Regions from separate parts of the Homo sapiens genome. Here regions 1, 3, 4 and 5 are each linked to region 2. Evidence: promoter capture Hi-C in human tissues and cell types (Jung and others, 2019). All regions are on one chromosome and are shown on one strand. Each heading gives the region's core, a stretch centred on a gene start or on the middle of the fragment in contact. The rest is flanking DNA. Distances are from core to core; before and after follow the strand shown.

Region 1 (2,700 bases), core at 84-2,583, 120 kb before region 2:
ACATTTCATTGAAAAATACCCTGAAGAACTATATTTTGATAATTGGTTTAGCTGTATTCCTAGTCTTATCTGCTAATGCATGACACTAACTTCCCAATTGGTTCTGTAAAAAAGGCCATTTTCTTACCAAGTTGTCTGATTTATTTACCATCTTTTTTTTTTTTTTTTTTTTAATTGAGCGGAGTCTCACGCTGTCCCAAGCTGAAGTGCAGTGGTGCGATCTTGGCTCACTGCAACCTCCGCCTCCCAGGTTCAAGCAATTTTCCTGCCTCAGCCTTCCAAGTAGCTGGGATTATAGGCACGCACCACCACACCTGGCTAATTTTTGTATTTTTAGTAGAGACAGGGTTTCACCCTGTTGGCCAGGCTAGTCTGTAACTCCTGACCTTGTGATCTGCTGGCCTCAGCCTCCCAAAGTGCTGGGATTGCAGGCGTAAGCCACCACACCCGGCCTTATTTACCATCTTTAATCCATTTTAGTACTATGGGTGAGTACATGGAATTGAAGTCTGGCTTAAATCTTCAGAAAGTTATATATCTATTTTATTTTATTTTTTTGAGACAGAGTCTCGCTGTGTCACCCAGGCTGGAGTACAGTGCCACAATCTTGGCTCACTGCAACCTCTGAGTCCCAGGTTCAAGCGATACTCATGCCTCAGCCTCCTGAGTAGCTGGGACTACAGGCGTGCACCACCACACCTGGCTAATTTTTTGTATTTTTAGTAGAGACGGGGTTTCGCCATGTTGCCCAGGCTGGTCTCTCCTGAGCTCAGGCAATCGGCCACCTTGGCCTCTGAAAGTGCTAGAATTACGGGCATGAGCCACCGCATCCAGCCAGAAAGATACATATCTAATTCTAGAAATAGCATGCAGTATCAGTCATAGTAACAGCCATGTGCTGACCTAAATAAAATTTCTTGATATTGTGTATTTAACCTGAAGTATTGAGCTAGTTTTTTTGTTTTGTTTTTTGGTGCTGAACATTTTGGTCTAATTCTTTGGCTTCTTAGAACATTTTAAAAAATCTATGTTTTGCTATCAGCCAAAGTAAATGTGTTCACACTAACATATAAGTTACTAACCTTCATTATACAGCAAAGCTAAAAAGTGGTGGGATATTTGGGGTCTTAATGAAAATTGTATCATTTAATTCCATAAATATTAAAATATTTGGGTACCTTTTAAGCTTTTTTTCTTTCCTTCTATAATGGTGGTACAAGTTCTATATTCATTCAGTTTAATCTCATTTGAAATTGTTTAAATCAGAGTACATGTAAATATTTGTGGGTTTTTTTTTTTGGTTTATAGACTCGAGCTTTCCTTTTACACAGTTTTTTTTAGGGAAAAACTAAAGCTATTAGGAAATTCTAAATCTTGTTGATGAAGAGTTGGGCTTTCTTTGATATAATTAATAAAAGGGATGTATGGTATTTATGGCTGGGTAGGACCAGAAATGCACTTTGTATTACAGAGTGTTAAGGCTGGTTGCTATAGTATGGAACAGAAACACCTCTCCTTGGTCTCCCTAGTAATGGTTCAAGTTCTTCCCAGGAAGTCTTACATATTATAACTTTGTTCATTATCTTTCCCTTATAGCATCATTTTCCTTTTTGTAGAGTGGAAATCAGACTAGCTGCTAAACATATTAAGGTTAATCCTCCAGAAATGTACTGGGGAGGCATTTTAGTCACAACAACTTACATTTGGCTTTGGAAGTTGTTAACAAAGCATAGTCGATGTTTTTAAATCAAACATAATTTGTATCTTGGAACTTACATTTTGACATTTGAATAAAACAAAAAGACTAAATGAAAGCCAACGTGGTGGTGTGTCCATACAGCAATGGTGCAGGAGCACTCTGCATTGACAACAACAAGCACAGCCAAACAGTGCCATTTTTAAAAGGGCACAGATGTCATATGAGCTGCTTCATTCTAGGGATTGATTAATCCTTGGCACTTCCATATCAGATAAATTCTAGCTGTAGATTCCACAGACAATGTCTGTTAAACATTTATCAAAAATCCTTACTTAAATGTCCCGCTTGACACTAGGGACACAGGCCAAGTTTTTCAGGAATCTTACTAGTCTTGTAGGGGAAACAAATACAAACTAAAGTGTATTTTAATAGTGGAAGTGAGATAGGTACCAGGTGTGGTGACATAGAAAGTGATGGCCTAGATAAGTCTGGAAGAACAAGTAGAAATTTGCCAGAAAAGAATAATGAGAACTAAATCAAAATCTCAGAAGTGTAAAACAACAACTAGGAAGCTGTAGGAGGTAAGAAATAAGCAACAACTGTAACTTCTTGTTAATACTCTGAAATGACCATTTAATATTCTCCTCTCCATCTAGCTAAGGATCTTGCTTCACATTTCATTGAAAAACCATTGATGGAATTCATCATCCCACCATCTATAAATCTATCTACTCCATCACTCAACCTTTCTCTCTAGTTACAACTGAAGTATCCCTCCTACAAAACTCAGTCACTCCCCACATGCTCTGGGTCTCATCATCCCCTCTCATTTCTCAAGGCCTTTAATTCTTTTGATCATGTCTCTACTATAGTATCTGTGTCCTTCCTTCTGAATTATTCCCAGTGGCATCCAAACACTGCTTAGTATTTCCTGTCCTATAGCAAATCTCCCAAGCTTATTTACGTATCTTTCCAACTACACCATAAGTTCCACAAAGATG
Region 2 (2,700 bases), core at 171-2,670:
TAATCCTAGCACTTTGGGGGGCCAAGGCAGGCAGATCACCTGAGGTCAGGAGTTCAAGACCAGCCTGGTCAACATAGTGAATCCCATCTCTACTAAAAATACAAAAATTAGCTAGGTGTAGTGGCGCATGTCCCAGCTACTTGGGAGGCTGAGGCAGGAGAATCGCCTGAACCTGGGAAGCAGCGGTTGCAGTGAGCCAAGATCGCCCGCCACTGCCCTCCAGCCTGAAAAACAGAGCGAGACTCCATCTCAAAAAAAAAAAAAAAAAAAAAAAAAATGGTGGTGAGAATAAGATTAGAACAAAATTCGGTTTCAGTCTCTGCTCAGATCCTGTTTCATGGATGTCTGACTCCACTCAAGGAGGCTTTGGGGATACAGAATCTAAGCACTAACGGTCCTCGGAGGTCTTCTGGGGATAAGGTTCCCTGTCCATTTCCCTAGGAATCACCTCTATGGTATCCTTCTGTGTGCAAAGGAACCCACAGGGGAGGAGTAAAGATGGAGCCTTCGATTCAAGAAAGTAACTGCAGACAAGTAACTAAGGCTCAGTTTCCTCAGGTGCAAAATGTGGGTAATTGACTTGCCTAATACATAGGATCGCTGAGAAGGCCCAACGGCTAGGATTACAAGCGTTGGAATTACAAGAGTCCCACCTCTGCTCTGTCCTTTACTAGCTGTGTGGACCTTATACACTGGTAAGTCCTTAATTTCACGGAGCTTCAGTTTCTCTTCAGTAACATATTTGTAATAGTATCTACCTCCTAAGGTTGATCTGATGATTAACCAGAATAATGAATATAAAATGCTTAGCAAAAACGTGGCACGGAGTGAAGTACTCAGCAAATATTGGTTATAATGGTTGAGGAAATGACATGCACTATATACATGAGGTTTCATTGTCTGAAAACATGCACGATTTGTTACCAAAAGACTTATCCTGGGCCGGCGCAGTGGCTCACGCCTGTAACCCCAGCACTTGGGGAGGCCAAGGCAGGAGGATTGCTTGAGACCTGGGCAACATAGTGAGATACTCTCTCTACAAAAAATCAGCCCAGCATGGTGATGTGTGCCTGTACCCCAGCTACTCCGGAGGCTGAGGTGGGAGGATCCCTTGAGCCCAGGAGCAGTGAGGTTGCAGTAAGCAGAGATCGCGCCACAGCACTCCAGCCTGCGCGACAGAGCAAGACCCTTTCTGAAATAAATAAATAAATAAATAAATAAATAAATAAAGCGATTTTAAAAAGAAAAGAAAGACTTATTCTGGAGGATTGGCTACATAGTGCAAATAAACAGAACAAAAATCTAGGGCCGCTGTAGCGGGCAAATTCGTTCACCAACTCCAACCAGACCCCGCCTCCAAGCAGGCAAGCCCCGCCCTCCCCAGGCTGCACCCTTGTCCCCGCCCCGATGCGCCTGCGCAGGGCCGGCCGCCGGCGGCCGAGGCGATGAGGGTGTTGGTGCGGCGCTGTTGGGGTCCTCCGCTGGCTCATGGCGCCAGGCGTGGGAGGCCGAGTCCCCAGTGGCGAGCACTGGCCCGACTCGGCTGGGAGGACTGCCGGGACTCCAGAGTCCGCGAGAAGCCTCCCTGGCGGGTGCTCTTCTTCGGCACGGACCAGTTCGCCCGCGAGGCGCTGCGGGCGCTGCACGCCGCCAGGTACCCGGGCCAGGGATCCGGGGACCCGGCCGCTGAAGGCCTCCAGGCCGCGCCCGGGCGGCCGGCCCCGAGGGTTTTGGACTTCTGGTTGCGGAAAGCATGGGCGGCAGAGCGGTGTGGGCCCAGATCTCGGCGTCTTCTGGCTCCCAGAAGGTGCGCCATTCCCGCCGGTCAGCCTTTGGGCGCCTAGTACCTGCGGTCTGCGCCCCTCACTCCCCGCCGCCTCTGTGGGTTCTCCAGGCGCCCTGCCACCCACGCTGTGCCGAGCTGGGGCTGGGCGCTCTGCCTGCATCCCCCGGGCCAGTCCCACGGCCTCCCTGCCCGTTTTGAGTGTGGGGAATCCGTGGCTCAGAGAGGTTATGCGATTGCCCAAGGTCATCAGCCGAGGTGGTTCGGACTAAAACCAGGTCCCACTTCAAAGTTCCCTGCTTTGCAGTTCCTCCTGACCCCCATCCTTCGGCACACCCGTGTCTCGCTCTTTTGCTCCCCCTGTGCTCCTTGTATACAAGGACATAGTCCAAAAACGACCTGTTTTCAAAAGAATAAATTTATAAATCAGAACTGTTAGGTATACATTTAGTATTCATAATATTTAACAAGTTTTGTTTACTGGGAAAGAAAATTATTTGAAATCCAACCAGTCCTGAGAGTCCATGGTATGTGGTGGCAATACCGTATATACTTCTCTGCCTCTTTTTCCCAATTAATGTTTTTTATTTCCCCATTCTGTTTTTTTCTGACGCAGTCCTCCTTCCACTTTTTTTGGTCATCTCCATCTCCTTTTCCCTACAGATACTTCACAGCAGCCCCTCATGTATTGAATCCTTCGTCAATCCCCTGTGTGGTTTTCCTTCCTCCACACACCCCTCTGTGCACACACCCGGAAGGAAACCCCATGTTCCCTTTGCACACCCTTCATGGGCTGCTGTTGTCACATGCGTCTCTCACTGCATTTATACATTTATACCAACACTTTTTTTGTTTGTTTCTGAGGCGAGGTCTCGCGCTGTCCCCCAGGCTGGAGTGCAGTGGCCGGCTCATAGCTC
Region 3 (2,700 bases), core at 90-2,589, 98 kb before region 2:
ATGCTTCTTCAGATACATTTCAAACCTGAATTATTTCTATTTGAAGAGGTATGAATGGTTGGACAGGGCAGGGATTGCAGACTGTGTGGATTTCCCCACCTTCCCTTCATGTCACTGGTCTCTTCTTGCCTCTGGAGGAAGCACCAGACACTATAGCCAGGCAGTTCAAGCTTCTCCACCGAAGTTTGTTTCAACCATGCTGGCTTTCTAGAAGTTACCCAATTGTGCTTTCCATTTGCCTGTCTGGATCTTAGCTGTTGTCATTCTGTTCATCTGGAGGGCCCTCAGTCCCATCTTTGCCATTTTAAGATCTCACTATTCAAAACCAAATACACATGCAGCATCCTTCATCCTTCCCTGATCTGGGCTGAGGTAACCTCCTGTTGCTTCTCACTTGCACCTGCTTTGGACCACATGCTGATTTATTTAGTAGATTGTAGGCCTTTGGTATTCACCAGAGATATTTGAGAGTGTACAAATTAGCAAATGCCACTCTAACAAATGATTTCCCATGTGTTGTTTAAAATGTAAATGAAAACTGGGATTCTTTTAGACCCTTAAGAAAGTTGTGTTGGAATATGACCATTTTGTATTCACCCAGGCTCGTTTGCTAGCTAAGTGATTGGCTTTTGCATACTAGCCTTCAGAGCGGCTAATTCACATCCAGACCTCAGAAACAGATGCCTCCATTGTGGTACTCTCAGGGCATTTGTAAATCAGAGGGAAGTTAGCATCTGCTTTGTCTACCCATCTCTTTTTCACTAGAAGGCAAAACCTGAGAGCTATTTAATATTCCCACACCTCACATCCTCTATGAGGTGAGTGCTCAGTAAACTTCTGCCAAGTGAATTTACCAGCATTTCCCAATATTAATCTTCCTCACTTTGGTCCAAAAGGAGGAGGAAATTTTAGGAAAATCATTATCTATAGAAATAAACAGACTTTGTGGCATTAAGTGACTTGAATGTAAAATGATTTGGTAAGTAGCAGCTGGTTGCATGCATATTTAAAATGAGCAGCTAACTTCTCTCTTCAAGATGTGTGCACCTCCAACTAAGTGCTGAATGATGAGGCTGGATGTTTAAGCAGGACCACGTTGCAAATTGTCTTATGGGCTATGCTAGAGTTCTCACTTATACTTAAAGCTTTGGGGAACCGCTGAAAGTTTTTTTTTTTTTTTTTTTTTGAGACGGAGTCTCGCTCTGTCGCCCAGGCCGGACTGCGGACTGCAGTGGCGCAATCTCGGCTCACTGCAAGCTCCGCTTCCCGGGTTCACGCCATTCTCCTGCCTCAGCCTCCCGAGTAGCTGGGACTACAGGCGCCCACCACCGCGCCCGGCTAATTTTTTGTATTTTTAGTAGAGACGGGGTTTCACCTTGTTAGCCAGGATGGTCTCGATCTCCTGACCTCATGATCCACCTGCCTCGGCCTCCCAAAGTGCTGGGATTACAGGCGTGAGCCACCACGCCTGGCCCCGCTGAAAGTTTTTAAGTGAAATGATGGCAAAGATCAGTGCCAGTAGAGCAGAGAAAGTTTTGGAGCATCCAGGAGAGAGAGAGAAGGGCAGAGAGATGGGTAAGGCTATTGGGCACGGGTAGTATGGAAGCATAAGCTGAGTGACGTCAGTGTGTAGGAGAATTGAGAGGTAATGAGTAATTCAAGTGATAGTGAATAATTGAGTAATTCAGAATTATTAGTGAATAATTCTCAAGTCAAAGAATTGAGAGATAATGAATAAAGGTATATGTGTATATACCCATGTACATATAAATAAATAATTTAAGGAACTCAGAGTACAGGAACTAAAGGGAAAAACAATGAAATGTCTTCCAGATTCTAGCCTCATCTACTGAATAAGTGAAGATAGCTTTTTTTTTTTGCTTTTTTTTTTTTTAAAAGACAGGGTCTTGCACTGTCGCCCAAGCCGAAGTGCAGTGGTGCAATCATAATTCACTGCAGCCTTATACTCCCAGGCAGGAGCGATCCTCCCACCTCAGCCTCCTGAGTAGTAGAGACTACAGGTGCACACCACCACACCTGGCTAATTTTTAAATTTTTTGTAGAGATAGAGTTTCGCCATGTTGCCCAAGCTGGTCTCGAACTCCTGGGCTCAAGCGATTCTCCCATCTTGGCCTCCCAAAGTTCTAGGATTAAGGGTGTGAGCCACTGTGCCTGGCCGATACCATTCTAATTAAGAAGGAAAACAAGGGAGGAGGAACAGGTTTAGGGTTGACAAGTTCAGTTGGGGACCTGTCGAGTTTGAGGTGTGTGTGGTACATCCTGGATAAGAGTTCATTAGCATGTAGCCATGAGTCAGAATGACCTTAAGGAGATTGTACAGCATGAGATGAGGGCCAAAAAGACAAAATCATAGGGAATGTCAAAATCAAGGTAGAAGATGAAGAGAGCAAAAAAGAGACCAAGAGAGGTCAGAGAGATGGGAGGAAAAGATAGACTCCCTGCTTCCTTCTGGAAAGTGGCAAGTGCTTAGAGAGAGATTGTGTAGTCTTGGTGATATGGTTTGGCTGTGTCCCCACCCAAATCTCATCTTGAATTGTAGCTCCCATAATTCCCACATGTCGTCGGAGGGACTTGGTGGGAGGTAATTGAATCATGGGGACAGGTCTTTCACATGCTGTTCTTGTGATCATAAGTCTCATGAGATCTGATGGATTTATAAAGGAGAGTTTCCTTGCACAC
Region 4 (2,700 bases), core at 15-2,514, 110 kb after region 2:
TATTCACAGGGTGCCCTCCTGCTGGCCCCTCCCTCCCACACTCCAGTTCAGATCTTGTGACCCACCACATAGGGGCATGGTTCTCTGGGATGGATTTTCCAACCCAAATGCTTTCAGGCACTCCCACCACTGCCAACAGGATCCTAACAATGGCATGGGACAGACCTCTTATGTGCCACAACCCTTTTACATCTGGTGAAGCCTATAGACCCCTTCTCAGAATATTTACTTAAATGCAAAAAAAAATTATACAGGAAAAAAAATTAATCAAATACACAGGCTTACAATGGCGTATTAGTTTCCTATTGCTGCTATAACAAATTACTATAAGCTTCATGGCATAAAACAGCATAAATTTATTATTTTACAATACTAGAGGTCAGAACTCTAAATTGGGTTGGCAATGCTGTGTTTCTTCTGGAAGCTCTTGGGGAAAATCCATTTCCTGGCCTTTTCCAGCTTCTAGAAGCTGCCCGAATTCCTTGGCTAGTGGCTCACATCACTCCAGCCCTGCCTCCTTCATCACACCTCACACATATCACATCACACCCAACAAATTCCTATTGGTGTGTTAGGTTGTGGGGGTTCAGAGGTTCTAGGGATTAGGATATGGACATCTTTGGGGTGCCATTATTCTGCCTACCATAAAAGGAAACCAATTATATTGAAATTAAGTTATGAAAATATTACAAACCAAGTTTTCAATCTAGTAACATATGTGTTTCCTTACTGACCCGTTAAACAACAAGATCTAGTGAAGGGTCTAATCACTGCCATAATTTCAATGTAATGATAAGTGTAAGAAGTATTTTAAGATAACTGCAAAAATTTTCATGTGATATGAAAATAGCTAAATTTTCTATTAGTGACAAAGTCACAAGTACTAATATTACCTACATTCATGATTGGAAAAAATGCTAATTAGCCGGGAGTGGTGGCACGCGCCTATAGTCCCAGCTACTCTGGGGGCTGAGGCAAGAGAATTGCTTGAACCCAGTAGGCGGAGGTTGCAGTGAGCTGAGATCATGCCACTGCACTCCAGCCTGGGTGACACAGCAAGACTCCATCTCAAAAGAAAGAAAGAAAAAAATGCTAAATTTTCAAGAAGTTAGCCAAAATAAATATGCATTTTTTTCCAATCCAAGTTCATAGGTCCTCTGAATTTTCTCCAAGAACCCATGTGAGAACTCCTGGCTGAGGGATTTGGCCCAGAAATGTTTGCATTTTCCTATGGGCCACTGACACCCTAAAAGGTTAGACACCAGTGGAGGGATTCCAGGCACTCTCACTTGCTGGGGCCCTGCTCCCTCAAATCCCAGTGCAGGCTGATAGAGAAACTCGCCCACCATACCACACTTGGTAAATGATGCTTTGCTCCTTTCACCCCACCGCACTGAGCACAAGGGGTGCAGAGCCTGGCAGGAGGGTGGAGGAGACCTCACCTCCTTCTCATTTAATTTTTCTAACTACCCTCTGAGGGAGTTACTTTGATTTCTCTCTTGTAAATAAGGAGGCCAGCCAGAGGGCTGGGAACTCTCCCAACTCACCGAATAGTAAAGGGAGGTGGGGGAGATCAGATGAAAGAGGGACAGGCAGAGGCAGGTTGGGGGCTGGAGGGGCAAGCAGGGGTGGGGGACAGAGGTCGGGGGAGACCTGTGCATCCAGGCCAGGGGAGCCGAGGGGACAGGGGTCTACCAGCTGAGGCCTTACCTTGCTCTCACAGTGGATCTTGGCCCCTGAGTTTACCAAGATCTGGAGGATTCGTAAGTGGCCGAACCAGGCAGACAGGAGAAGCGCATTCATCCCAAACTAGGGGAGAGGACATAGAGGAGGTGAGAAGAATGTGGGAAGGCGTGGCTGTGCCAGCCAGGCCCTGTGCCTTATGACTAAACCATACAACCAGAAGGAACTATAAGTGCCACTTAATCCAGGGAGCTCCAAGCTTTAGGAGTTTAAAGACCAAGATTTTTTTTTTTTTAAATAGAGGCTGATGTACTATTGCAAACTTTTAAAATTTATTTTTGCTAAATGAAACTTAAAAATAAGACAGCTGCCGGCCAGGCTTGGTGGCTCACGCCTGTAATCCCAGCACTTTGGGAGGCTGAGGCAGGAGGATCACATGAGGTCAGGAGTTCAAGACCAGCCTGGCCAATATGGTGAAACCCCGTCTCTACTAAAAATAGAAAAATTAGCCGAGCGTGGTGGTGGGCACCTGTAATCCCAGCTACTTGGGAGGTTGAGGCAGGAGAATCGCTTGAACCCAGGAGACGGAGGTTGCAGTGAGGTGAAATCATGCCACTGCACTCCAGCCTGAGTGACAGAGTGAGACTTCGTCTCAAAACAAACAAACAAAAAAACCAGCTGCCATTTACTCTCATCACCATTTCATAAAGAAAGACCATTTTAAAAGAAAAAATTTGTAAGGAACCAATCTTAGAATATATACTTGACAAATAAAGCTTCATAACTGGGTGTGGTGGTTCACACCTGTAATCCCAACACTCTGAGATGTGAATCACTTGAGCCCAGGAGTTTGAAACCAGACTGGGCAAAATAGGGGGACCCCCATCTCTACAGACATTTTCGTAAAAATAAGCCAGGCGTGGAGGCACACTCCTGTGGTCCCAGCTACTCAGGAGGCTGAGGTGGGAGGATCACTTGAGCCCAGGAGGTAGAGGCTACAGTGAGCTGTGATCGCAC
Region 5 (2,700 bases), core at 38-2,537, 79 kb before region 2:
AGGACAGATACTAGTCTTGATCTAACCCAAAAAGCCAAGAAGTGATGTGTGAATGAGTTCTTAATTCTTGGCTTTCAGGTTTAGTAGATACTGTTGACTAAGTGACTTTCTGACCAACAGTGAATGAGAGTTATAGATGTTCCACATCCTCATCATCGCTTGATATTGTGAAGCTTTTTAATTTTAACCTTAAATTAATGGTTGTATGTTTGTGTAGTGGTATCTCATTGTTTTATTTTGCATTCCCCTGATGACTAATGAAGTTAAACAACTTATCATATTGGCTATTTGGATATCCTCTTTTGTAAAGTGCATATTAAAAGTCTCTTGCCCATTTCTTATTGTTTATAGAAGTTCTTTGTATATACTGGATATGAGTCCTTTGTCATATAGATTTGTTGCAAATATCTTCTCCCACTCTGTGATTTGTTTTTGTTTTTGTTTTAACTCTCTTAATGGTATATTCTGATGAATGGAAGTTTTTTTTTTTTTTTTTTTTTTTGAGACAGATTCTCGCTCTGTCACCCAGGCTGGAGTGCAGTGGCGTGATCTCGGCTCACTGCAAGCTCCGCCTCCTGGGTTCATGCCATTCTCCTGCCTCAGCCTCCTGAGTAGCTGGGACTACAGGCGCCCACCACTATGCCCAGCTAATTTTTTGTATTTTTAGTAGAGACGGGGTTTCACCATGTTAGCCAGAATGGTCTCGATCTCCTGACCTTGTGATCCGCCCACCTCGGCCTCCAAAGTGCTGGGATTACAGGTGTGAGCCACCACGCCCGGCCAAATGGAAGTTCTTAACTTTTTTTTCTTTCTTTTTTTTTTTTTTTTGAGACAGAGTCTCGCTCTGTCACCTAGGCTGGAGTAGAGTGGTGTGATCTTGGCTCACTGCAACCTCCGTCTCCCAGGTTCAAGCGATTCTCCTGCCTCAGCCTCCCTAGTAGCTGAGATTACAGATGTGTGCCACCACGCCTGGCTAATTTTTGTATGTTTAGTAGAAACAGGGTTTCACCATGTTGGCCAGGATGGTCTCGATCTCCCAACCTCAAGCGATCTGCCTGCCTTAGCCTCCCAAAGTGCTGGGATTACAGGTGTGAGCCACTGCACCTGGCGGAAGTTCTTAACTTTAATGTAATCCAGTTTATCAGAATTTTCCTTCATGGTTAGTCTCTTTTGGAGTTGTTGTTGTTGTGTTTTTTTAAATTTAATTTATTTATTTATTTATTTATTTATTTGAGACAGTGTCTCATTTTGTTGCCCAGGCTGGAGTGCAACCTGGGCTCACAGCTCACTCATCTTACTGCAGCCTCATCCTCCCAGGCTTAAGCAATCCTCCTACTTCAGCCTCCCGAGTAGCTGGGGCTGTAGGTGTATGCCACCATACCTGGCTAGTTTTGTATTTTTTGTAGAGATAGGGGTCTTGCTTTGTTGCCCATGCTCATCTCAATCTCCTGGCCTCAACTGATCCTCCTGCCTGGGCCTCTCAAAGTGCTGGGATTATAGGCATGAGCCAACGTGCCTGGCCCGTTAGCCCTTTTGTAACTTAAGAAATGTTTTGACTATTACAAGGCCATGAATATAGTCTTTCATTTTTATCTTTGAGTTTTATTATTTTACCTTTTACATTTAAATCTACAGTCCACCTGGAATTGATTTTTAGGTATGACATGAGGTAGAGGTCAATATTGTTTTTGTTTTTTTTTTTCCCCAGATGGATATCAAATTAATCCAGAACAATTTATTTAAAAGACTTTCCCTTTCCAGCTACTCTACAGAGCCAATTTTGTCATAAGTCAAAGATTCATGTGTGGATATGTTTCTGGACTTTCTTTTTTGTCCTGTTGGTCTCTTTGTAAGTCTTTAAGTCACTCTCTTCATTCTCATAACTTGAAGGTCTTGCTATCTGATAGTGAAAGTCTTCCACTGTGTTGCTTCTCCAAGAGTCTCTTGGCTTTTCCTGGTCCTTTGCATTTCATTTAATTTTAGAATTAGCTTGCCAATTTCTACCAAAAAAAAAAGTGATGGAATTTTGATACATGGGATGAATAAATTAATTGGAGGAGAACTGCTATCTTTACAAGATTCAGTTTTACAATCCTTGAACGTGGTATGTTCCTCCATTTAACCAAATGTTTTATAGTTTTCCGTGTAGCGGTCTCATACATCTTGTGTTAGATTTAGTCCTAGAGAACTATACTAATATAAATGGTAACTTTTTAAATTTTCCTTTTTTTTTTTTTTTTTTTTTGAGACAGCGTTTCCTTCTTGTTGCCCAGGCTGGAGTGCAATTGTGTGATCTTGGCTCACTGCAACCTCTGCCTCCCAGATTCAAGCGATTCTCCTGCCTCAGTCTCCCAAGTAGCTGGGATTTCAGGCACCCACCACCATGCCCAGCTAATTTTTGTATTTTTAGTAGAGACGGGGTTTCACCATGTTGGCCAGACTGGTCTCCAACTCCTGACCTCAAGATAATCCTCCCACCTCGACTTCCCCAAGTGCTGGGATTTGGGATTACAGGTGTGAGCCACTGCACCTGGCCTAAAATGTTCCATTTCTAATAAAATTTTTAGAAGAGTCCATTTACATGATTTACTATTTATATAGAGAGATGTAATTCCTTTTTTTTTTCCTTTTTCTTTCTTCTTTTTTTTTTTGAGACAGCATCTTGCTCCGTTGTCAGGCTGGAGTGCAGCAGCATGATCT

What was found. The method cuts DNA at HindIII sites, captures the fragments that hold promoters and counts their contacts. A contact is called where the count stands out against the background at its distance.
Region 1: a contact is called between a fragment that was not itself captured here and the fragment with the promoter of MTFMT in region 2, in 7 of the 25 tissues and cell types used here (H1 embryonic stem cells, aorta, heart right ventricle and 4 more).
Region 3: a fragment that was not itself captured here is called in contact with the fragment with the promoter of MTFMT in region 2 in 5 of the 25 tissues and cell types used here (aorta, dorsolateral prefrontal cortex, mesendoderm cells and 2 more).
Region 4: a contact is called between a fragment that was not itself captured here and the fragment with the promoter of MTFMT in region 2, in 3 of the 25 tissues and cell types used here (dorsolateral prefrontal cortex, lymphoblastoid cells and mesenchymal stem cells).
Region 5: a contact is called between a fragment that was not itself captured here and the fragment with the promoter of MTFMT in region 2, in 2 of the 25 tissues and cell types used here (aorta and mesenchymal stem cells).

What each region holds. Positions count from the first base shown.
Region 1 is chr15:65,147,333-65,150,032 of GRCh38, reverse strand. It overlaps CLPX (caseinolytic mitochondrial matrix peptidase chaperone subunit X), which reads left to right. Exons shown (of 14, transcript NM_006660.5): 14 at 1-1,814. Among named protein-coding and RNA genes, the nearest start is that of PDCD7, 15 kb to the right of the region's middle. The HindIII fragment of the contact is 4,931 bases long and covers 1-2,700 here.
Region 2 is chr15:65,028,359-65,031,058 of GRCh38, reverse strand. It overlaps MTFMT (mitochondrial methionyl-tRNA formyltransferase), which reads left to right and starts at 1,420. Exons shown (of 9, transcript NM_139242.4): 1 at 1,420-1,654. The coding sequence starts at 1,446. RefSeq lists silencers at 1,268-1,457, 1,708-2,007. The HindIII fragment of the contact is 8,500 bases long and covers 1-2,700 here.
Region 3 is chr15:65,125,950-65,128,649 of GRCh38, reverse strand. All of the region lies in intron 2 of PDCD7 (programmed cell death 7), which reads left to right. Among named protein-coding and RNA genes, the nearest start is that of PDCD7, 6.5 kb to the left of the region's middle. The HindIII fragment of the contact is 5,174 bases long and covers 1-2,700 here.
Region 4 is chr15:64,921,030-64,923,729 of GRCh38, reverse strand. ANKDD1A (ankyrin repeat and death domain containing 1A) reads right to left here. Exons shown (of 15, transcript NM_182703.6): 4 at 1,711-1,809. Among named protein-coding and RNA genes, the nearest start is that of ANKDD1A, 10 kb to the right of the region's middle. The HindIII fragment of the contact is 3,028 bases long and covers 1-2,700 here.
Region 5 is chr15:65,107,285-65,109,984 of GRCh38, reverse strand. All of the region lies in intron 1 of UBAP1L (ubiquitin associated protein 1 like), which reads left to right. Among named protein-coding and RNA genes, the nearest start is that of UBAP1L, 6.6 kb to the left of the region's middle. The HindIII fragment of the contact is 4,545 bases long and covers 1-2,700 here.